6 separate regions of the Homo sapiens genome follow, and all the other regions are linked to region 5. Evidence: promoter capture Hi-C in 16 types of primary human blood cells and fetal thymus (Javierre and others, 2016). All regions are on one chromosome and are shown on one strand. Each heading gives the region's core, a stretch centred on a gene start or on the middle of the fragment in contact. The rest is flanking DNA. Distances are from core to core; before and after follow the strand shown.

What was found. Contacts are between HindIII fragments. The CHiCAGO score rates a contact against its expected background, and 5 or more counts as called.
Region 1: a contact is called between a fragment that was not itself captured here and the fragment with the promoter of FAM53B in region 5, in 7 of 17 cell types (naive B cells, total B cells, naive CD4 T cells and 4 more). The highest score is 11.4, in naive B cells.
Region 2: a fragment that was not itself captured here is called in contact with the fragment with the promoter of FAM53B in region 5 in 9 of 17 cell types (fetal thymus, activated CD4 T cells, non-activated CD4 T cells and 6 more); the score reaches 12.0 in fetal thymus.
Region 3: a fragment that was not itself captured here is called in contact with the fragment with the promoter of FAM53B in region 5 in 9 of 17 cell types (naive B cells, total B cells, total CD4 T cells and 6 more); the score reaches 10.3 in naive B cells.
Region 4: a contact is called between a fragment that was not itself captured here and the fragment with the promoter of FAM53B in region 5, in 7 of 17 cell types (total B cells, total CD8 T cells, total CD4 T cells and 4 more). The highest score is 8.5, in total B cells.
Region 6: a contact is called between a fragment that was not itself captured here and the fragment with the promoter of FAM53B in region 5, in 3 of 17 cell types (total CD4 T cells, naive CD8 T cells and naive B cells). The highest score is 5.4, in total CD4 T cells.

What each region holds. Positions count from the first base shown.
Region 1 is chr10:124,401,887-124,406,019 of GRCh38, forward strand. It overlaps OAT (ornithine aminotransferase), which reads right to left. Exons shown (of 10, transcript NM_000274.4): 5 at 3,550-3,677; 6 at 1,912-2,034; 7 at 1,041-1,169. Among named protein-coding and RNA genes, the nearest start is that of OAT, 15 kb to the right of the region's middle. RefSeq lists enhancers at 1,574-2,117, 1,654-1,948 and a silencer at 1,654-1,948. The HindIII fragment of the contact is 9,199 bases long and covers 1-4,133 here.
Region 2 is chr10:124,470,606-124,474,482 of GRCh38, forward strand. All of the region lies in intron 1 of LHPP (phospholysine phosphohistidine inorganic pyrophosphate phosphatase), which reads left to right. Among named protein-coding and RNA genes, the nearest start is that of LHPP, 11 kb to the left of the region's middle. The HindIII fragment of the contact is 458 bases long and covers 2,385-2,842 here.
Region 3 is chr10:124,450,917-124,454,670 of GRCh38, forward strand. No RefSeq gene overlaps it. Among named protein-coding and RNA genes, the nearest start is that of NKX1-2, 2.8 kb to the left of the region's middle. RefSeq lists enhancers at 1-543, 544-1,100. The HindIII fragment of the contact is 3,147 bases long and covers 274-3,420 here.
Region 4 is chr10:124,421,596-124,425,733 of GRCh38, forward strand. No RefSeq gene overlaps it. Among named protein-coding and RNA genes, the nearest start is that of OAT, 4.7 kb to the left of the region's middle. The HindIII fragment of the contact is 323 bases long and covers 2,385-2,707 here.
Region 5 is chr10:124,742,668-124,746,611 of GRCh38, forward strand. FAM53B (family with sequence similarity 53 member B) reads right to left here and starts at 1,711. Exons shown (of 5, transcript NM_014661.4): 1 at 1,346-1,711. RefSeq lists silencers at 590-669, 760-969, 1,290-1,449, 1,500-1,609, 1,630-1,679 and 1 more. The HindIII fragment of the contact is 7,750 bases long and covers 1-3,944 here.
Region 6 is chr10:124,379,959-124,384,243 of GRCh38, forward strand. No RefSeq gene overlaps it. Among named protein-coding and RNA genes, the nearest start is that of OAT, 37 kb to the right of the region's middle. RefSeq lists an enhancer at 1-75. The HindIII fragment of the contact is 3,534 bases long and covers 984-4,285 here.

The sequences.
Region 1 (4,133 bases), core at 1-2,500, 340 kb before region 5:
TACTAAGCATCCTTTTCCCCAGAGTCTCGCTGTCACCCAGGCTTGAGTGCAGTGGCGTGATCTCAGCTCACTGCAATCTCTGCCTCCTGGACTCAAGCAATTCTCCTGCCTCAGCCTCCCAAGTAGCTAGGATTACAGGTGCCCACCACCACACCACACATGTTATTTATTTATTTATTTATTTTGTAGTTTTAGTAGAGATATAGTTTCACCATGTTGGCCAGGCTGGTCTCGAACTCATGACCTCAGGTGATCTGCCTGCCTCGGCCTCCCAAAGTGCTGGGATTGCAGGCATAAGCCACCACACCCGGCCAAGAAACTGATACTTAATGACTTCAACGAAAGAGTTTACATCTGCCAACCTAACTACCAGTAACAACCTAATGACTTAGTCATACCCTAAAACATTACAAATACTTTAGGTACACTTCAATGGCACAAAACAATATAATTTTGCAACTAAAAGAGAAAAGCTATTTCTGCAATGATATAATTTCACAATCACTTCCAACGTCGAGATGAAATGCTTTGTTTAAATGCTTAAAAAACAAAGCTGAGCATTCTTTTTAGCAAAAGTTTTGTCTATTCAGCAAAAACATCTATACTTCAGAGACCTCTGATGTAGTAACAATTACTGGCTCTGAAAGGCAAACCCAAGACATGAACTACAACAAACATTAATTTTTCTCAGTCTCTTTGTTCACCAGTCATGGTTTTAAACAATTAGTAATATGCCATGTTTCTGAACACTGGAAAAAAGGACAGGAGTCTACAGGAGTCCTTTGGGGGTAAACTGTTTCCACCCAAATCCAATGTCATAGCAAATTCCAAGGCACACTCAATTCTTCAGGCAATAAGTAAGTGGGTCACACACTGGTCCCTTAAATGTTTTTATTACAGATATTCCGGGTGGCCTGCAGCACACTTGGTAAAATCAAACAATCTGAAAGCATTGTTGTCACAATCAGTTGATGTATAAATACTTTAGGGGTATATTTTACAAGAGTAGGAAATGGAAAGAGGGGGAACATGAAACTTACAGGGTATAAGCCCCCAGAAAGGGCCTTTCCAAGGAGGACTATATCAGGTCTGACATTTTCATAATCAACAGCCAGCCATCTACCAGTTCTGGCCAATCCTGTCTGTATTTCATCAGCAATAAAGAGAACCTATTGGGGAAAAAAAATACCCCTATTAGTGATCACTTTCGTTTCCACAGGGAAAATAGCCATCCTTATTTCACTGTCCCCCCACCAACAATAAATGTGTAATTCTGATGTGCCCTCAAATTTGTAAAAATGTTTTAACTGCACACAATTTCAAGAGTATCCTATAAGAATCTTGTAGACTCACCAACTATTTCCTTTGTCAGGCCACTATCTCCCTAGAGGCCCATTCTGCCCTGCTCTACATAGTGAAAAGGTGCTGATGCAAAGGTGAGGGTTTTGTATGGCTTTTCTGGACCTAACTACCCTCTGGGAACAAATTAATTCATTTGTTTATTCCACAAGCATTTAATATGTGACAGAAACTCTCAAATGGTAAACAAAATATACTACTATTAGCCCTGGGGGAAAGGAGGAGAGAATACAACAAAGGGCTTGCGGGGGCTCAGAGTGAAAGGCTCTTAGAGCAGCGAGGAAGGAAACGCTGTTAAGACCAGGTCTGCAGTTCTGCACAGGGCCCAGGACAAGGCCAGAGACAGGAAAAAGTCTGCTTCTGTGCAGGTTTCTAAGCACTAGGAAGTACTTAAGCTCTTAGAATGCCATCGCCCTCTAGTGGAAAGTAATTTAATCTTTGCATTTATCCAATCAGCAGAATTCAGAGAGGAGTTGGGGAGGAGCCCATTCAGCCTCATCACAAACAGCTAACTCGACATTCAGCCTTATCACAAACAGCTAACGTGACAACCTGGTGCCTGGTGCAGAGCTCTCGCACTCCCATTAGGTAACCTGGATCCGGAACAACAACGCCTGCTTCACCCTGAATTGGTTCTACCATGAACGCAGCCACATTTGGATCCTGAAGAGCACGCTACAGAAGAAACAGGAATAAGTTTTAATAACTTCCTTTCTACCACACTTGGAAATCTGAAAGCATATACCACACATATTTTACATTAAGTATGCAAATCAAGTTTTCGCACTAACGTAAATTCTGACTTCAAATTCACTGCCATTCAATTATCAGAAGCTCCAAATACCTCACCTTTAAGTTACACTAGCCTACATTTCCTTTTTTGCCTCATTCTGTTGCCCAGGCTGGAGTATAGCAGCACAAACATGGCCCACTAAAGTCTCGAACTCCTGGGCTCAAGGTGATCCTCCTGCCTCAGCCTGCCAAGTAGCTGCGCACCATGCCCAGCTAATTTTTTATTTATTTTCATTTTTTTTTTTTTGGAGATGGAGTCTCACTCTGTCACCCAGGCTGGAGTGCAGTGGCACGATCTTGGCTTACTGCAGCCTCTGCCTCCTGGGTTCCAGCAATTCTCCTGCCTCAGCCTCCCAAGTAGCTGGGATTACAGGCGCACAGCACCACGCCCAGCTAATTTTTTTTTGTATTTTTAGTAGAGACAGGGTTTCACCACTGTCTCTGGTTTCACTGTTGGCCAGGCTGGTCTCGACTCCTGACCTCAAGCAATCTGCCTGCCTCGGCCTCCCAAAGTGCTGCGATTACAGGCGTGAGTCACCGCGCCTGACCTTGATTTTTAAATTTTTTTGTAGAGACAGGCTCTCCCTATGCTGCCCAGGCTGGTCTTGAACTCCTGAACACAAAGTGCTCCTCCAGCCCTGGCCTCCCAAAGCACTGGGATTACAGGCATGTACCACCATGCCCAGCCTGTTTTCTAATACACAAATGTACCTAAATTAAATCTGGCTGGGCACAGTGGCTCATGCCTGTCACCCCAGCACCTTGGGAGGCCAAGGTGGGCAGATCACTTGAGGTCAAGTGTTCGAGACCAGCCTGGCCAACGTGGCGAAACCATGTCTCTAAAGAAAATAGAAAAGTTAGTTGGGTGTGGTGGTGTGTGCCTGTGGTTCCAGCTACTTGGGAGGCTGAGGCAGGAGGATCACTTGAACCCAGGAAGCGGAGTTTGCAGTGAGACGAGATTGTGCCACTGCGCTCCAGCCTAGGTGACAGAGTGAGACTCTGTCTCAAAAAAAGAAATTAATTACTTAAATTAAATCTAAAGTAAATAGCCTTTTAAAGCCAACTTAAGGCTTTCTTAAAAAGTCTTCCACTTCATAATTTTAAAAAGCTAGCTAAAAACAGAAATTTTACCTAGTAAGTAAGCAGGTATACCGAAGTTAACTGTTATGAAGGACACACATCTAAAGTAGTTGGCTGGCTGTACAGAGTAGATCACAGAACTCAGCTTTCTCTGTGTTGGAAACTAATTGATCGCTACTGAGAACAAGTCTGAAATCGTGGCTTAACTTAAGTGAGATAAATTTGCATTACTGTCATATAATGTACTTTTAATTCATATATTCAACAGCTTTAATTTCTATTCCCAATGAGCTGAGCACTATGATGCTAGTGAAATACCTCCAGTGCGGGCAGATCATTATAGGGAATGATGTCGAATCCCGGCATAAATGGTCCAAAACCATCGTAACTGGTTGGGTCTGTGGAACTGGAGATAGCAGACAACGTCCTACCCCAGAAGTTCCCAGCTACAAAGGGGAAACAAACAGTGATTATTTCAAAGAAACCCAAAATTCAATAAGCACTATCCCCGCAAAACACCACAAGAAGTTTGACTCAAAAAATAAATCAAGGGCTTGCTTTAGTGCACCTTCGGTGGGCTTTCAATTGTTAAAACAAAGTCTGATATTAAACACCATGGCTCCTATGACACAAGGCCACTAAGTCTGGCCTTGTAATTCCTATTTTAGGCATTTCTCTCTACTGAGCCTCTTGACTGGAATATATAGCCCCTGAAGATAGATAACTTACTTTTCTTTCAATAATCCCCAACCCAAAACCAAGCCCTAACAATTGAGGTCTTGAATGCATGTTTTCTAGAGAAGGTGCATTTATGATAGTGATATGAGAAAGAATATCCTTCATAGACAATTAGCGGTTTTCCTTTCAAAACTCCAATACTGCAGGCTAACAACAGAATGCAT
Region 2 (3,877 bases), core at 1,364-3,863, 270 kb before region 5:
TCCAGCCCTAGGGACACAGGTCCCTGGGAGTAGCAGCAATAGTAACAACAACAACAACAACAACAACAACAACAACAATAATAATAATGTAGGCTGTGGGCCTGGGCTGGAACTTCATCTCTATTGCCTCATCCAACCCCCACACGCGGTGTGGCACCTGCCGGAGGGGTCTGGCAGGACATTGTAGGGAGAGGGCCATTTGTTTGCATTTGTTTAAGCCAACAGGAGTTTTCCTGATGCAACCTGGACCTTGGACAAGGGGTGTTTGTCGAGAACGTGCTGTCGTCACCTGTGGTCCCATTTGCTGTCAGGAGGTGAAGCACTTTGTCTTCAGAGATGGGAGCCGGTGCTCTTTCACCCTGGGTTCTGTGATTTCAGCTGTCATTTCAACATTTTAAGTTTCATAAGAAATAGGTGGCCTCCTTATGTAAACATTCTCACCAGCCTGTGAATATACAGAGTGAAAAGTCCAAGTCCTCCATCCTCGACCAAGTCCCAGTGACTTCCCCAGGGTGACACAATACATCCTTTTCCTTCGTATTCCTCAAAAGCACAGAGGATTTTGAGATGCAGCCTTCCCTGACTCTTGTCCAGTTCTGCGGGCACCTGCCCCATCACTCTTGAATGCCACCGCCCCACCATTGCCCAAGGCATGTGTTTGGTTAGTCACAGGTCACTGGAGGCTGGAGACCCCTTGCAGGTCCCCGGGCCAGGAGTTTTGAATTCTTTGTAGCCTCAGAGCACTTATCCAACCAAATGAAATTTTGAGTAGAACTCCAAAATTATATATATATAATATATATATTTATATATTATATATATATTTATATATTATATATATTTATATATTTATATATATTTATATATTATATATATTTATATATTTATATATATTTATATATTATATATATTTATATATTTATATATATTTATATATATTTTATATATATTTATATATATATAAATTTTTTTATATTTATATATTTTTTATATATTTATATATATTACATATATTTTTATATTTTATATATATTTATATATGTATTTATATATATGTATATTTATATATATTTGTATATATATTTATGTATATTTATATATATTTGTATATATATTTATGTATATATATATTTGTATATATATTTGTATATATATATATTTATATATAAATATTTATGAGAACAGTGTTTGAATAGTATATTATTTTTAATAGGGATGGGATCTTAATATATTGCCCAGGCTGGTCTCAAACTCCTGGCCTCAAGGAGTCCTCCTGCCTCAGCCTACCCAGTAGCTGGGATTATAGGTGTGTGCCACCGTGTCTAGCTCAGAATGGAATATGTTTTCTGTGTTCAAATTTATAATGTTTGTTCTGAGGTCAACTGATGAGAATGATGGAAGTGTTTTTATGAATAACAATGTTGGGCTGGGTGCAGTGGCTCACGCCTGTAATCCCTGCACTTTGGGAGGCCAAAGCGGGCAGATCACATAAGGTCAGGAGTTTGAGACCAGCCTGGCCCACATAGTGAAACCCCCGTCTTTACTAAATATACAAAAATCAGCTGGGTGTGGTGTTGTGCGCCTGTAATCCTAGCTACTTGGGAGGCTGAGGCGTGAGAATTGCTTGAACCCGAGAGGCAGAGGCTGGGGTGAGCCAAGATTGTGCTACTGCACCCCAGCCTGGGAGACACAGCAAGACTCTGTCTCAAAAAAAATGTTGAGGTCTGCAGCAGTGAACCACACAACACAGTTTATATGCTTAGAAGTTTATGTGAGTGCTGGAAGCGAGCTTATTAGGAGGGATGAGTGAATGTTTTCTGGTTTATCCAGACTTCAGACTGTTAGACAGCTATGAAAGAATGACTTCGCTCTGTTTGGTGCTGACATTAGTTTATATGATATGAGTGCTGTATATACCAAGTGAAAAAGCTGTAGAATAATGTGTATAAACTTACTTTTTTTTTTTTTTTTGAGACGCAGTCTCGCTCTGTCACCCAGGCTGGAGTGCAGTGGTGCGATCTCAGCTCACTGCAACCTTGGCCTCCCGGGTTCAAGCGATTCTCCTCCTCAGCCTCCTGAGTAGCTGGGACTACAGGCGCCTGCCACCACGTCTGGCTAACTTTTGTATTTTTAGTAGAGACGGAGTTTCACTATGTTGACCAGGCTGGTTTTGAACTCCTGACCTCAGGTGATCCGCCCGCCTCAGCTTCCCAAAGTGCTGGGATTACAGGCGTGAGCCACTGCGCCCAGCCTAAACTTCCATTTTTGTTAAGAGAAAACAAAGGAAACACAACCACCCCCGTATATCTGGGGTAGAGTCATAATAGAATCACAAACTTGAACTGTATGGAAAGAGACTGAGGAAAATCTGATGGCTGCTTGAAAGCTTTCCCGTGGCTCTGCTGGCAGGAGTAAGGTCTGCTTCTCAGTTTCTGATCTCAGCCTTGGTGGGCGGGGGTCACCCTGTGAAAATCAAGGGCAGCCAGGGTGGGTCTGGCACAGGATTATTGGTTTACCCTGCAGGTGCTGCCTCTGGTTGGAAGCCCTTGGCCAATTACAAGGGGAGTGTGGCACAAGTTACAAAGCTCATGAATGGAGTCCTGCCCCTACCCCCAGTGCCCCACAACGTGCAAGAAGCCATATTGGCAAAGCAGTGCCACACCTGCCCACTGTGGTGTGCAGGGTGATTTCCCAGGCCCCCGGCAACAGGCACGTTGCTGTCCAGCTTGTAGAGGAGGAACTTAAGGTTCACAGAAGTGATAGGACTTATTCAGACACCTTTTGAGGGGGACTGAGGGCTGCTGCTTCTGCCAGGGCAGGCACCACCTCTTACCTGTTGCAAAGCTTAATCCTGTCACAGAAAGTGCCAGGTGTCAGCTCTAGTGTGAGAGCGTGGGTTTCCAATCCCAGCTCTGCCCCATAGTTGCCATGTGGCCTCAAGGAAGTCCCTTAGCGTTCCGTCACCCCATTATGGCTGCAGCTCAAGGGCCCCAGTTTCCTATGTGTAATTCCTGTACCCAGGCTGCAAGAATTAAGTGAAATATTTTCTCTTAAACCAATGTTTGGGTGGGGCGAGGCGACTCATGCCTGTAATCCCAGCACTTTGGGAGGCCGAGGCAAGTGGATCACCTGAGGTCAGGAGTTCAAGACCAGCCTGGCCAACATGGTGAAACCCCGTCTCACTAAAAATATAAAAAAATTAGCTGGGTGCAGTGGTTTGCACCTCTAATACCAACTACTCAGGAGACTGAAGAATCACTTGAACCTGGGAGGCGGAGGTTGCAGTGAGCTGAGATTGCACCACTGCACTCCAGCCTGGGCAATACCAGCGAGACTCGGTCTCAAAAAAGCAAAAACAAACAAAAGCCAACGTTTTCCTTTTTTTTTAAGTTTTTGTTTTCTTTTCCTTTTTACCTTAAACTATCAGGAGATAAAAGCCAACGTTTTACTTATTCCATATCTAGGAGCTAAAGGAGCATTTTGTTGTTGAAGGGTCAAATAATTTTGAAGAGTGGGTTGCTTTGCCCTTTTTTTTTTTTTTTTTTTTTTTTTGAGACAGGGTCTCACTTTGTCACCTAGGCTGGAGTGCAGTGGCACAATCTTGGCTCACTGCAGCCTCGACCTCCTGGGCTCAAGCGATCCTTTCACCTCAGCCCCCAAAGTAGCTGAGACTACAAGTGCACACCACTGCACCTGGCCAATTTTTGTATTTTTAGTACAGACAAGGTTTTGCCACGTTGCCCAGGCTGGTCTTGAACTCCAGAGCTCAACGGATCTGCCCACCTCAGTCTCCCAAAGTGTTGGGATTACAAGTATGAACCACCGTGCCCGGCCATATGAAGTCTTGTAGTTGTTGAACTCGGTGTACATGCTAAAC
Region 3 (3,754 bases), core at 597-3,096, 290 kb before region 5:
GGGTGTCTGCCCTGGTTTGCTGTGACCCGGAGCACAGCCCTCAATGGACAAACGTCAGGCCTTCTCCAGAGTCACAAATTCGATCATTTGCAACAGAAATTGGATCTGAGAATTAGGTTGCATCTCTGACCCCCATTCCCTCTCAGCCCCAGAAGCAGAAGATTCAGAAATGCCTGTCTGGTTTGAATTTAAGGTCCGAGAAGAGAGACAGTTGAAATGGCCCTCATCTGCCCCACCAAGTCCCCTGGGAAAGTGATCACCAGTGGTCGGAGAAGCTTCCACTGGCCACACCAATCCTGAATTTCTTCTTTTGTCTCTTGGAAAGCACACAGCAGTCTGTGAGCACTAAGCATTTGTTTCAGGCAAATTCTGAGGCTTCTCCTAGTGTTTGGCCCAGAACCACCTCTGACTCTGCCGTTCCTTTCTTCTCCGCCCCATAGGGTTTCCAAACAATGACTTGGCAATTAATATTGTCTGAGCAGGTAAGGAGTAGGAAGAGGAGGAGAAACCTTCTCATTAAAGTGCTGGGGGCTGCTAATCCCATCTGTTATTGAAGAGGCATCCTTAGAAGCCAGCTCCTTGTAGCTTTTCTCATTCAAACCTTGCTGCCCCTCCCAGAGGTGGTCACTGTATTCCCTGCGGACTTTAAAGCCTGCGGAAATCAAGCCAGCTCCAGTCCTAAAGTGAAGACGGATTGTGCTTTTAAAGCTCAGGAAAGGAAGTGCCCTTCCCAAGTCCACTGGACCACCTCCCATCGAAGGGAATGTGAAAATCCCAAAGAAAAGATGGCCCTGAAACTAAAAAGTGGCGCCCGACAACCTGGACTGCAAATCACAGAGCCTTCCTGAAATACAGATGGGGTACTTTGTTTTCTGTTTTGATAATGCTTTCTCACCCAGTTCTCGATTTTTTTTTCTAATCTTCCTTTTTGTTTCTCCCCCTTCACCCTTTTGATCCTAGCCGCCCCTTCTACATTTTCCCACCATGTTTACTTTTTTTTTTTTTGAGACAGAGTCTCTCTGTCACCCAGGCTGGAGTGCAGTGGCGCGATCTTGGCTCACTGTGCAACCTCTGCCTCCTGGGTTCAAGCAATTCTCCTGCCTCAGCCTCCCAAGTAGCTGGGATTATAGGTGCGCGCCACTGTGCCCGGCTAATTTTTGTATTATTAGTAGATACAGGTTTTCACCATGTTGGCCAGGCTGGTCTCAAACTCATGATCTCAAGTGATCCGCCCACCTTGGGTTCTCAAAGTGCTGAGATTACAGGCATGAGCCATCGTGCCTGGCCCATGTTTATATTTTTAAATGCTGAGGTTCTCAGGATAGCTAGGAATAGGTTTCCTTAAGTTAGCCCCAGATGGAAGTATGTGGCCTCCCACTGTCCCTCTTATTCATTCTCCTATGAGAAACCTTGAGACTCTTTATTTTCACAGGATGGTGGGCATTCCAGGGGCCACCCTATACCCCAAACCAGAGGGACAAGGGAGGCCCAGACAGCCAAGAGTAACCCAATCCCGGATCATTTCCACTGTACTCCATAGATTACCTCAAAAAATTTTGTTTAAATGATATGAATCATCTTTCCCTTGAGGTTCACAGATGTTAAATATAGGGAAGGAGCCGAAAAAGGAAGAAGCAACAAATTGGAGAGAAAGCCAAGAATGGCAGAGGCCACATTCCTTAAACCTGTGAATCCTTACAAACTCCTTCTCTTAGTGGTTTTCTGTTTTGCTTGCCCCTTATTTTTCAGATTTTTTTTTTTTTTTGAGATAGGGTCTCGCTCTGTTGTCCAGGATGGAGTGCAGTGGCGCGATCTCAGCTCACTGCAGCCTTCAACTCCCAGATTTAAGCAATTCTCATGCCTCAGCCTCCTGAGTAGCTGGCGAGTAGCTGGGATTACAGGCACGTGCCACCATGCCATGCTAATGTTTTCTTTTGTTTTGTTTTGTTTCAGACAGAGTCCTGCTCTGTCTCTCAGGTTGGAGTACAATGGCATGATCTCGGCTCACTGCAACCTCCGCCTTCTGGGGTTAAGCGATTCTCCTGCCTCAGCCTCCCCAGTAGCTGAGATTACAGGTACGCACAACCACACCTGGCTAATTTTTGTATTTTTAGTAGAGACAGAGTTTCACCATGTTGGCCAGGCTGGTCTTGAACTCCTGACCTCATGTGATCCACCAGCCTTGGCCTCCCAAAGTGCTGGGATTACAGGTGTGAGCCACCACGCACGGCTTAAATTTTTTTTTTTTTTTTTTTGATACAGAGTGTCACTCTGTCACCCAGGCTGGAGTGCAGTGGTGTGATCTCAGCTCACTGCAACCTCTGCCTCCTGGGTTCAAGCGATTCTCCTGCCTCAGCCTCCCGAGTAGTTGAGACTACAGGCATACACTCCTGCGCCCAGCTAATTTTTATATTTTTAGTAGAGACAGGGTTTCACCATGTTAGCCAGGCTGGTCTCGAACTACTGACCTTGTGATCCACTTGCCTCGGCCTCCCAAAGTGCTGGGATTACAGGCGTGAGCTACCGTGCCTGGCCTAATTTTTTGTGTTTTTAACAGAGACAGGATTTCACCATGTTGACCAAGCTAGTGTCGAACTCCTAGCCTCAAGTGATCTGCCCGCCTTGGCCTCCCAAAGTGCTGGGATTACAGGCATGAGCCATTGTGCCCGGCCAGATATTTCTGGTCTGTGTGTTCATTGTAGCACAAGGTAATGTGAATGCTCATGCTTAGTACTTGGCTGCAGGCAATAGATGGCACACAAGAAACTTCGCTGGGTCTCCCATCAACACTGAAGGGATAGAAATGCCCTCTCTTACTCATCCAACTTAAAGAGAAACCTGCTAACCAAAGAACAGGATACTTTCTTCAACGTGGGGGATAGTGGAGGAGGAGGTCCTAGGTAATTTTTTTTTCTGGCCACCTGTTTTGTAAAAGACCAGGAGGCAGTGAGCATCCTTTTCAGTACAACTTGGCCATGTGTTTGGCTCACTAACATCCTCACATGTGTATTTATACCCACGCTATTCCTATATAACATATCCAGATCCAGCAAGCCACCTTCCCTCTGTGCATAGAGTTGATTTTTTTTTTTTCAGCCTGGGCATTAAAATTCCGCCTGAGTGCTATCTTTAAATTGCTTTGATGCTAGGTGGGTTCCAACCCTGACCTGTCCTGATAGCAAGTGATGCCTGTAACAAGCTCGGGATCAATATTCATAGCGGGTGTCCTGGGCTGATAACACTATCCAAGACAATGTTCACTATCCGTGCAGACAGCTGAGATATTGCACCATTAGGGATGTTGTGTTAAATAACCTGATCCATTTCTGGGGCTATTTAATGAATTTCACAGTTTAGATAGTATCTTTAAGGAGAAGGCAAAGGCTATTCCGGAGGCACTGATGCAAATCAATGGTGCCAAGCTTCCTAAGGTATTCCACAAACAAAGGTGCCTATAATTCCAGCACAGCCTTGAAGAGCCGCTGAGTGCCATGAATAGTGTTAACAATGGAAAGAATTTGCAGTTTATGCAGAGGGAGTGGGGGGGAGGGGGCAATATTATGAGCCGTGTTAAAGCATTTTAGATAAAATCTTATGTTCCTAAAGTAAAATGCAACTGAAATTCTCCAGGTAAAACCCTGCGTTTTGAGCCAGCCCCCAGGGTAGGATATATGTGCCAAAGAGACAGCTTCATAAGACACAGCTTGATGACAAAGAGGGACACCTCAACTGCCAGACAGCCTGTGGGTAACCC
Region 4 (4,138 bases), core at 1,296-3,795, 320 kb before region 5:
GTGCCTGACCTTGCGAGGGGTTTCACATCATCAGGCAACACCATGTGAGTCCTTTTTGTTTGTTTGTTTGTTTGTTTGTTTGTTTTTTGAGACAGAGTCTCGCTCTGGCGCCAAGGCTGGAGTGCAGTGGCATGGTCATGGCTCACTGCAACCTCTACCTCCTGGATCCACCCATCTCAGCCTCCTGAGTAACTGGGACTTCAAGCGCATGCCACTACGCCCAGCTAATTTTTATATCTTTTTGGTAAAGATGGAGTTTCACCATGTTGTCCAGGCTGGTCTTGAACTCCTGGACTCAAGCAATCTGCCCACCTCTGCCTCTCAAAGTGCTGGGATTACAGGCATGAGCCACCATGCCCGACCCATATGAGTCTCTTCAGTAAGGAGGGAGAAGTTCCAGAAATGCTCCTTTAACAGATGTGAACAAAAATCTTGCGACATTGGTCATCTAAAAAAGCTGCAACTGTATTTTAAAAAAGGAAAGAATCATTGATTTTCTTATACAGACAACTCTCTAGTATTTAGTGGCCAGAAAAACAACGGGTGGGCTATGCAGATCTCTTGCTTTGCGTTGCTTCCTTTATTGTCCCACTCGTCCTGACTTCTTATTAGTATAGTCTGCATATACCTGGGCTTCAAATGATTAAAAAGGAAAATCCAAGCTGACAGCCAAGGAGGAAAACTGATAACGACACAGAGAAAATAAGTGTTTGGTGATTTTTAACCTGCAGGAGAAATTTTGTTTCCCAGATTACATTCACCCTAAAAAGATGTCTTCGCAGCAGAAGTCTGGGCAACATGTGTAACGCATCCTTCCTGCTCCCAGTGCACCAAGTCAGGACAGGTATTTAGGTCTGGTGGAGAGCAAACCTCCTTTAAGTCCAGAAAGGCAGGGATCTGGAAGGAGCAAGTTAAGCAAGGCATCGAGGACAGTGGGAGAGTGATCGATGGTAAACGTTCTGAACTGGGAATGATAGACAGAGACTCAGAAATGTTGCCGTTCGTCTATGGGTCCTCATATGAGGCTGTGCCTGACGGGAGTATTAATTTTTCTCTCCCGGAGCCAAGCTCCACCTACGAACTCAGGCTGCAACCCCTTCCCGTCCCCCAGGTGAGACCCTCCCTGACGACTGAGACTGAAGGGGCCTCGTCCTCTTCCTGAGCACTTCCTGTCCACGTCAGGCTGGCCTGCAGTCTTTTTTCTTTTTTTAATTTAAAAATACACATAGAGACAGGGTCTCGACATCTCGCTCAGGCTGGTCTCAAACTCCTGGGCTCAAGCAATCCTCCGGCCTCGGCCCCCCAAAGTGCTAGAATTACAGGTGTGAGCCACCATGCCTGGCCTGCGGTCGTTTTTTAACCTACAATATCTCTCTGGCTCTCTAGCTCTATCAATTTGAGAAAAGAAAACTCACTCATCTGGGCGCAGTGGCTCACACCTATAATCCCAATACTTTGGGAGGCCGAGGTGGGAGGATTACCTGAGGTCGGGAGTTTGAGACCAGACTGACCAACATGGGGAAACCCCGTTTCTACTAAAAATACAAAATTAGCCAGGCATGGTGGCGCATGCCTGTAGTCCCAGCTACTCGAGAGGCTGAGGCAGGAGAATCGCTTGAACCCGGGAGGCAGAGGTTGCAGTGAGCCAAGATCACGCCATTGCATTCCAGCCTTGGCAACAGGAGTGAAACTCTGTCTCAAAAAAAAAAAAAATGAAATGAAAACTCACTCGTAGCAGGTATTCAAGGTTTGCAAAATCAGGCCAGAGAAACACCAACACCAGACATCAGTTACAACCCCCAAAACTCATGCCCGGGGGTAGATGTTTAAAGGCATTTTTGTTCCTGACTACCTAACACACTCATCTCATGTTCCTGGAATTTAAGTTACAAAAAACAATGTATAGACAATCAGTAGCTTATTTTAATGTAAATTCTTGGTAAACAATTTAGGAATTGCCTTTTCTTTTTTCCTTAAAAACCCACTTGGGGCTGGGCACGGTGGCTCGCGCCTGTAATCTCAGCACTTTGGGAGGCCAAGGCGGCCGATCACTTGAGGTCATGTGTTCGAGACCAGCCTGGCCAACATGGTGAAATCCCGTCTCTACTGAAAATACAAAAATTAGCCAGGAGTGGTGGCATGCACCTGTAATCCCAGCTACACTGGAGGCTAAGGCAGGAGAATCTCTTGAACTCAGGAGGTGGAGGTTGCAGTGAGTAGAGATCACGCTGCTGCACTCCAGCCTGGGCAACAGAGCAAGATTCTGTCTCAAAAAACAAAAACAAAAACAAAAACAAAACAAAAAAAACCCACTTGTAACTGACGTCAATCAGAGTGTATGATAAGGGCAACTTGAATGGATTGTTCCCAGGTGGCCATCCTCAAGCTTTGGGCTTGAATAAACTCTATACTTCACTGTATTTTCTGAGTCTCATTATTTGAGGTTGGCAGTGTCTTATCTTCCCAACCACATTTAAGTTCTTAAAGGCAGAGCTTGTCTTGCAGGATTTTCACAGCCTCCCAGCGCCCATCTCTACATGGCTCTAGTAGAAATTACTATTCTACACTCGTTCGTCACTATTCATCTTTATTCCTCTGGACAGGAATCAGAGGCAGAGCAGGTAATCATTTTGGGAGTGGTTCTGAGATTCCAAGAGCCTCTCCTCAACCCTAGAATAGCGACAGCTATTCAAATTAAAGCCCTAGAAGCTTGAGTTGAAGGCAGGAGGATACTTCAAAGCATTATTGCCCATTTACATTTGGCTAACTGTCCCGCTGAAGGAATGTCACCTGGGCCTGGCACATTTACAGTTGTCTGGAGAGGAGATTGACAATTCTCTGGATGTGGCATGAGATCTGGAGGGGAGCCTCTGCGAGGATCTTGAGAGCTGGGGGGCTGAGGCCAGAGGACACTGGGTGCCTGAAAAACTGGGTACAGGGGAGTGGGGGGAACAGAAAATACCAGAAGAGGGATGGAGGAGGACCAGGCCCATTCAGCTTACCAAGCCAGGGGGTCAGGACTATTCAAATTAGCCCAGAAGCAAAGACGTAAAAAGCCATTAGGCTCACGGAGCTGTGAAAGTCAGCTAAGGCTCAATATTGAAAAATAATATGTTGGCTGGGCGCAGCGGCCCACGCCTGTAATCCCAGCACTTTGGGAGGCTGAGGCGGGCAGATCCCCTGAGGTCAGGAGTTCGAGACCAGCCTGGTCAACATGATGAAACCCCATCTCTACTAAAAACACAAAAATTAGCTGGGCATGGTGGCAGGCACCTGTAACCCCAGCTACTTGGGGGGCTGAGGCAGGAGAATCGCTTGAACCTGAGAGGCGGAGGTTGCAGTGAGCCGAGATCGTGCCATTGCACTCCAGTCTGGGGGACAAAAGCAAGACTTCATTTCAAAAAAAAAAAAAAAAAGAAAAATAATATGTTTTCTTTCTTATGAACATAGGCATTAGAGATGCAAATACAGAATAGATTTTAGAGATAAAGAGACACTTTAAAACCTAATCTAGGCCAGGCTCGGTGGCTAATGCCTGTAATCCCAGCACTTTGGGAGGCCAAGGCAGGCGAATCACCTGAGGTCAGGAGTTCAAGACCAGCCTGGCCAACATGGTGAAACCCCATCTCTAAAAAAATGTAGCTGGGCATGATGGCAAATGCCTGTAATCCCAGCTATTTGGGAGGCTGAGGCAGGAGAATCGCTTGAATCCAGGAGGCAGAGATTGCCAAGAGCCAAGATCGCACCATTGCACTTCAACCTGGGTGACAGAGTGAGACTCTGTAAAAAAAAAAAAAAAAAAAAAAACTAATCTAACTCTTTTAAAGGCAGAGAAATCCAATCCAAGATTCCAAGGTAAAGGGCCCCCACCTGTCTTACGAAATGGGTCACAGGGACAGCCAAGAAACTGTGTGTTCTACCAATCATGTTCCACATTTGAGACATTTAATCAGAAGTAAGAATTTTGACTAAGAACAAAAAAGGCTGAAATAAAAGTTTTTAATAAAAATTTAAGGAATGAGCAGCAGTATTTATTTAAAGAATATTACATTGCTCGTTAATTTTAAAAAATAAGATAAACCTCAATTACTAGTTAAACATTTACTTTATATCCTTATCTATTTAGGTACTAAGAAGA
Region 5 (3,944 bases), core at 461-2,960:
TCCCTTTTCTCCACCATCCAACAATTGAACAAACATTTGTTCCTGTTGAACAACCGTCAGCCTGGCTCCATCTGCACCCGCTCCTGCAAGGCGAGCGCGGCGGCGAAGGCGACGGCACAAATGCCCACCCCAGGATCCCAGACCCGGAATGCAAGCCATTCCGGGGGCCACTTTCCTAACACCACCGAGTCCGGAGATTGTACCGTATGGAAGACTCGGAGTGTGGCCTATAGGAGGCAGAATCCCATTCATCAAACGCTGCAAAGAGCTTTTCTTTGTTCACCATCGTCCTAAGTACAGTACGTGTTAATGAGCCCGGGCGGTCAGATGGAAGGAGCTCGGCTTCAGGGGGCGTCCGAACGCGAGGGACCCGGGCAAACCTGTCCGCGCGGTTCGTCGCTGCTGCGGCGCCCCGGCCCGTACTACAAGCATTGTTCCCCAAGTCCGAAAATGGGGGTGGAGAGCTGGGGGCTGGGGGACAAGGTGGGGGGGCGGGGGGAGCGAGAACACACTTGGGACAACACAAACCGCAAACCCTCCCCGGATTCTGGGTGTCCTCGTTTCTTTCGTCTCTGCCCCAAGAGAAACCCTGAGCGGGGAACCTGACTCCCACGGGCTTGCAAAATCCAAGACTAGCAAAAATGTGACTCGACCAGTGTGCCTGTGCCGGACGGCCCTTCTCGCCATGTGCAAAAGCCACGCCGGCGCGGACGCCCCCACTCCGCAAGCCCCAGCGGTGGCCTCCCCGCGGGCTTCCCCCGCCCGGGACAGAATGCCCCCTCACCCCCATCCTGACCGCCCCGGACAGTCCAGCAGCAGCGGAGCCCGCCGCCTCGCTCCCGCACCCCGGGGGTGGCGGGTGCAAACTTCCGCGAACAAAAGAGTTGTCTGCAAACGATGCGGGAACTTCGGGGCGAATGGGGCCGCCCGGCTCCCGAGACTCCGCGCCTCCTCCGCAGCGGCTAGTCAGGGCTCAAGTTGAGACGCGGAGAGGACACCCCCGGGCGCAGCAGTCCCCGCGCCCGCCCGCCCTGGCCTGGGGAGCGCAGACTTTTCCGCCGCAGCCAGGCTTGTTCTTCCCCATGCCTGTGCTCTGACAAGTCTCACGCCTGCATCAGGGGCGAGACCGAGCGCCCGGAGAAACCGCCCGACCCAACCCAAAGGCGAAACAAGGCAGAAAAAAAGGAAACCAGCAACATTAGGAAAAAAGAAAAAAAAAAGGCAAGCCCATTGCGCACGCGAGCCGGGCTCCCTCCAGCCAGCGGCCGGGACGCACACGGCCCGGACCTCGCTCGGGGCCAGCCCCCCGGCCACCGCCGCCGCCGCCCGGCCCCGGGTCGCTTACTGTGCGCGGCGGGGCGCTCCGGGCGCGGACCCCGCGCCGTCACCGCCAGCGCTCGCCAAGTCGTCCGGGGTGCCCGCCGCGCGTCCGCCGCGCGCACGCTCGCCTGCCGGCGCCGAGCGCTTTGTACGAGCGACTCCCGGGGAGGAGGAAATCGACTTGTCACTTCCTGAAGTGTTTGCAACTCGTCCCTTTAACCGGCACCGGCCAGGCCGCCCGCACCCGCCGCCGCCGCGGAGCCGCCAGACCGCGGCTGCGTGAACTCGGCCCGGCGCTTAGCGGGCGGTGTCGCGGGCCCGGGCGCTAGGCGCGGCGGCGGCGTGCAGGAGGCAGGCGGCGTGCGGCGGCGGCGGCAGGCGAGTGTGCAGTGCGCGCAGCCGCCGATGGGCGGGGAGTGAGGGACTCGCGGCGCGCCGCCGGCGGGGCTAGAGGGCGTCCTGCGGGCTCAGCCGCGCGCCGCTCGCCGCGCTCGCGCCTGCGAGGCCCCGGGACGCGGGAAGTGGCCCCGGGCCTGGGCCGCGCCACCGCGGCTGCCCGGGCCCCGCGCCAGAGGCCCTACGGGCTTCTCTCCCCGCCCCCAGCACGAGCCGGGATGAAAACGCTGGGCCGCATAGGCTTCAGGCGTCCAGCTTCCGGGTTGTTAGATGCCGAGGTTCAAAAGAAACGATCACTTCAGTGGCGTGCAGGACAGCGGGCGGGTGGGGTCGGGGAGGGGGGACCTTAAAGTGTTGTCACACTTTGGGAAAATAAAGCGCAAATTTCCTAACTCGGGGCGCTGTGACTGTGTACTTCAGAAGCCACATCCAAAATACATGCAACTGGCGAAGGAAGGATTTGTGGTTGCTAAGCAGAGGCAGAGCATGTTTAGTTCTGTAACTTAGGATGTTGACTTAAGTTCAGGAATGTAACCCTGATAGAATAAGCAGAGTATTTTCATTGTGCTGCTCACCTGGGGGAGGGGGATTGTTTTCCTTGTGAAGCCCTAGATTTCCCATTACTCCTTCCTACTGGTGTATGTTATTTTATTGACCTTGTATCCAAAAAGCGATTTTTAAAGAGAAGTTTTTTTAAAACTCCCTATGCCTGTTTTGTGTTCTCCTTTGCCAAAAAAACAAAACACCTCATTACTTTACATGGATTGTGTCTGCGCCATTTGAATGGTTCTATTCATAAATAAGGAAACTTTTTCTGTTGCTTCTAGGAACATTTAATTGGTTTTAATCCAATGTTTCAATCCCAGTATCAAACATAAATGAACAATTAACTTCTTGAGCTTTGTGTGCTTGGGAAACTATTATATTTCATGGCTATTGCTGAAATATTTCAGAATATCATCACACCGGACCCATTCTTTTCAGAAAAGCATGAACTGACATCTCCTTTCACACTACAGCTCGCTCCACTGAGTTCTGCTGCATGATTAGAATGGACAGCAATCAGTGGAAAGGATATGAGTCTATTCATTTCAAGTTACATGATGTGGGATAGAGTCAGTTCATCCTAGAAAGCCAAAATGAGCTAACATACAGAATACAGCATACTAAGATATTGATATCCTTACCCATATACGTTGCTTTTTAAAAATGCATTAAGGACCAATCTTGAAAGGAACAAGATCCAAGAACCGATGGTGAACAAAAGAAGGCCCAAGGAATAATCTAAGAATGCTGCTATGCTTAACGAAAAGAGTCAGTGTTTCCCTAAAGCCATCTGATATCACACAATCACCTCAGCCTTTCAGAGCTTTAAGGACAGAGTTTAATTTACTAACGTTTTATTAGGAAGCCTAGAGTGACTCCTGCTGGCAAACATTCAGTTTATTCCTACAATTACTAGTTCATCAGGTCAACTTAAAAAACAAGATGCAGGGTCCCAGGCCTGGAAACAATTATTACAACCATTATTCTTGTTGCTTTCAGGATGATTTGCGTTTCACATTCCAAGGATGGTGGTCATGGCCAGTTCCTCTGCTGTAACACCTCCTTTCCAACCTAAAGCAGCCTGTTTTTCTGGTTCTGAGGCTTTCTTGAGGCTGTCTAGAATATACTTGCTTAAGAAGTTATGCTATTAACCAATAAATAGTTACTTCTCATTTTCTAGATTTGTATCTCCAAAGGCTAAAAAGATATGCATACATTAAGACCTGTGTCACACTTAACCTTCCATACTATAGGTTCTTCCCACATGATATAATAATCCTACAGCTATATTATAAAACATCCTCACTTCTTAGTGCTCAGCTCCATAGTTCTTTACTAAGAAAAAATTCTACCCAAAAGGTTGTTGTTATATTAGAGTTCTGCTCAATTCAGAAGAGTAGCTAAAAATGTAGAACTCTAGATTTAAAGCTATGTAAAAGCTGCAATGGGGTGGGGACATGGAGCTAAACTGTCTATCTTTGTTCAATCCAAAATGGTCAAAACCAGATTTTGCACACAACCAGACACCTAAATGCAAATTCATAGGCCAATTTAGGAATAAATCCATAAATAATCTAAAAACTATTACTTGTAACTTTTCCATTATCACCAACCAACGCTAACCTGATTAAGCCGGAGAACACCCTGGGAAATATAAAATGCAGGGATTACTTGCAGTCTTT
Region 6 (4,285 bases), core at 1,501-4,000, 360 kb before region 5:
GGTCACACTCCTCCCAGGCTGCAAGGCCTGATTTAATGGCACCTCCTCCCTGCTCCTCCCGACTCCCCTGCTCCTCCCCTGACTCCCCAGCTCTTCCCCACCTCCTCTGTGCTCTTCTCCTGACTCCCCATCTTCTCCGTGAGCCTCCCCTGACTCCCCAGCTCTTCCCCATCTCCTCCATGCTCCTCCCCTGACTCCCTGTGTCCTCTGTGCTCCTCCCGACTTCCCAGATCCTCCCCATCTCCTCGGTGCTCCTCTCCTGACTCCTCAGCTCCTCCGTGCTCCTCCCCTAACTCTCCAGCTCTTCCACGTTCCTCCTCTGACTCCTCAGCCCCTTCCCATCTCCTCTGTGATCCTCCCGACTCCCTAGCTCTTCCCTATCTCCTCCATGCTCCTCTCCTGACTCCGCAGCTCCTCCGTGCTCCTCCCGACTCCCCAGCTCCTCCCCTGAATCCTCATCTCCTCCATGCTCCTCCCCTGACTCCTCATCTCCTCTGTGCTCCTCCCAACTCCCCATCTCCTCCATGCTCCTCCTGACTCCCCAACTCCTCTCTGCTCCTCCCAACTCTCTATCCCCTCCATGGTCCTCCTCTGACTCCTCAGCTCCTCCCCATCTCCTCCATGCTTCTCCCCTGACTCCCCAGCTCCTCTGTGCTCCTCTCCTGACTCCCTAGCTCCTCCCAGCTCCTCTGTGCTCCTCCCGATTCCACAGCAACTCCGTGCACTGCCCTGACACTCCAGCTCCTCCTCTGATGCCCCAGCTCCTCAGTGCTCATCCCCAGCTCTGTCCCAACCACTTCTTCATCCTGACTTGTATGAGTTTTGCTGTTTTTGTCTCTCCTCCCCCACGACTTTGAGATGCTATCTGTCTTTTCTTAGCTTTCATTCTCTGGCCCCTAGCTCAGATCCTGGCACTGTAAACACCCAATAGACCCTGGTTTGATTTCGAATTGCTCATCAATTTCTGAAAATAATGCACCTCAAGCTTTTCTTGGCAGTTGTCTGCAAATTGATTCAAGATGCCCAGCCAGGCAGGGGCAGGTGTGCTGGGGAAATCAAGGAAACCAACATCCATCCTGCTGGGAAGGCCTCCCACACTCTGACTCATCTGGTTTTCCTTCACACGTGTATTTGCGGGAAACGAACTTCTGTGCTTGAATAAATATGCGGTTCTTTGTAAACATCAACGTTGTAAGTGCAATAAATCACTGGAAACAAGAGGCACCTCTCGCGGTGGAGAACAGGAACGGCTTTCGCAAGCACTATCGGAAAGAAGCAGCGACATCAATAAAGCCGCCCGTCAGAGCTGAGGAAAGAAATCAAAGCCCTTCCTGTGGAGGACACTGTTTAATTGATGTCGCATTCAGGGGATTATGGACTATGATCAATGCAAACTGGACTGACCGAGAGAACCCTGAGCACGGAAGGTTAGCTGGGTGTCCCGGGCTCCCAGCCAACCATGTCAGAGCCAGAATGGACACCCAAGGACAGTAAAGACAAGACCCCATCTAGAGTTGGAAGCACCCAGAAGCCTCTGTCATCACCCTGCCCCAGCAATGCCACAGATGGGTGCCCCCTGGCAGAGCCACAGAATGTGTAAAGCTAAAATGAGTGTCCCGGCATCCAGGGTTCTCTCTGTAGTACCCGCCTCAGCATCCCTGGCCTCATACACAGCAGGTACTCAATAAAGGTGGCTGAATTATGGATTCTCAACTCCCAATGCTGGCAGTGGGTCAGCACTGAACACATAATCCCAACTGCATGGTCTGGTGCACTCCAGGAAAACAAACCGGTCAACAATTGTCACTAGAGGAAGTCAAGACTAGCTCAAGGTAGTGGACGGTACATCTCTTCATCGACTTGCTGATCCAATTGAATCTTCTTGCTTTGATCACTGAAACTTTGCTCCAGGGGTTTTCAACCCTGGCTATGCTGCAGAAGCACCTGGAAAGTCTGTTAAAATATGCATGTAGGCCAGGGGAAGTGCTTCACGCCTATAATCTCAACACTTTGGAAGCCCAAGAAGGGGGGATTACTTGAGGCCAGCCTAGGCAACATAGCAAGACCTCATTTCTAAAAAAAAAAAAAAAAAAAAAAATTTTGGCCAGGTGTGGTGGCTCATGCCTATAATCCCAGCACTTTGGGAAGCAGAGGCGGGTAGATCACCTGAGGTCAGGGGGGTTCGAGACCAGCCTGGCCAACATGGTGAAACGCTGTCTCTACTAAAAATACAAAAATTAGTCGAGCATGGTGGTGCATGCCTGTAGTCCCAGCTACTCCAGAGGCTGAGGCGGGAGAATCACTTGAACCAGGGAGGCAGAGGTTGCAGTGAGCCAAGATCATGCCACTGCACTCTAGCCTGGGTGACAGAGCAAGAATCTTTCTCAAAAAAAAAAGAAAAGAAATTTTTTTTTCTTTTTCTTTTTTTTGGAGACGGAGTCTTGCTCTGTCACCCAGGCTGGAGTGCAGTGGCACGATCTCGGCTCACTGCAAGCTCTGCCTCCTGGGTTCACGGCATTCTCCTGCCTCAGCCTCCAGAGTAGCTGGGACTACAAGTGCCCACCACCATGCCTGGCTAAATTTTTTGTATTTTTTAGTAGAGACGGGGTTTCACCATGTTGGCCAGAATGGTCTCGATCTCCTGACCTTGTGATTTGCCCACCTCAGCCTCCCAAAGCTCTGGGATTACAGGCGTGAGCCACCGTGCCCGGCCAGAAATTTTTTTTTAATTAGCCAGGCATGATGACACACACCTGTAGTCCCAGCTACTCGGGAAGCTGAGGCGAGAGAAGTGATTGAGCCCAGAAGTTTGAGGTTACAGTGAACTATGATCACACCACTGCACTGCAGCCTAAGTGACAGAGTGAGTGAGGCCCCGTCTCCAAAAATAATAATTATATATGTATATATACACACGTATGTGTCGGGCCCACCCCAGACAAGGCATACAGATGTTGTAAAAGTGGCCACATGTCCCTGGAGTGCTCCAAAGACTGAAGACCTCTAGCCTCACAGAGGGCCAGAGTGGTGGAACCCTGCCCCAGCTCTGCCGCCGACATCATGTGAAGTTGGTGCTAGGCAGACTCTTAGCTCCCTTGTCTGTAAAACAGACATCATAAAACCCTAAGGGACCAGGCGTGGTGGCTCACGCCTGTAATCCCAACACTTTGGGAGGCTGAGGCGGGCGGATCACCTGAGGCCAGGAGTTTAAGACCAGCCTGGCCAACATGCTGAAACCCCGTCTGTACTACACATACAAAAAAAATTAGCCAGGTGCGTGGCGGATGCCTGTAGTCCCAGTTACTCAGGAGGCTGAGGCAGGAGAATCACTTGAACCCAGGAGGCAGAGGTTGCAGTGAGCCAAGATCACACCACTGCACTCCAGCTTGGGCAACAAGAGCGAAACTCTGTCTCAAAAAAAAAAAAAAAAAAAAAAACTCTAAGCCCCCACTGACCAAATAGGTCCACCCCAAGCACAGGAATCCACTCTACAGACTTACAAAGCAGCTGCCAGTCACAAATATTATTTTTATTTGTGTAAAGAAGCATGAATTTGCTCCACGACACTCAGACTCAATAAATATCTCATTTGAAAGTTTTTCTAAATAAAATTAAATCTAGCTGAACTCCCTGACACACCCCAACCTGGCCACCTTGCCTGACTGAGGGCCCTCTCCCGACTCAAGCACAGTCTATGTACCACTGAGTCAGCTGCATGTGCAGCCCCAGGCAGGCACCTCACCCACACCGCCAGCCCCTCTGGCCAGCATGTGGAATCAACAGCTATCACTCTGAGTCTTTGCGATCCTAAAAATGACAGACATAGTTCAGGGTCTTTATTTTTTTTTTTTTTCGACCCTGGGTGACAGGGTCTCACTCTGTCACCCAGGCTGAAGTGCAGTGGTACAATCGTGGCTCACTGTAGCCCCAATCTCTTGGGCTCAGGTGATCCTCCTACCTCATGAATAACTCAAGATAGTGGAGGGTACATGTCTTCATCTGCTGGCTGATTCAGTAGGCTCATCTACTCAGCCTCCCCAGTAGCTAAGACCACAGGTGCATGCCACCACTCTGGCTAATTTTTTTTTTTTTTTTTTTTAGAGATGGGGTCCCACTATGTTGCCCAGGTTGATCTCAAATTCCTGGGCTCAAGCGATCCTCTTGCCTCAGCCTCCCATAGTGCTGGGATTACAGGTGTAAGCCGCTGTTGGGCTAGCTCTCCGGTGGCTGAGGAACTCACATTTATTTCCAGAATCTCCCTGGCCACTGATCCTTCATTTAAAAC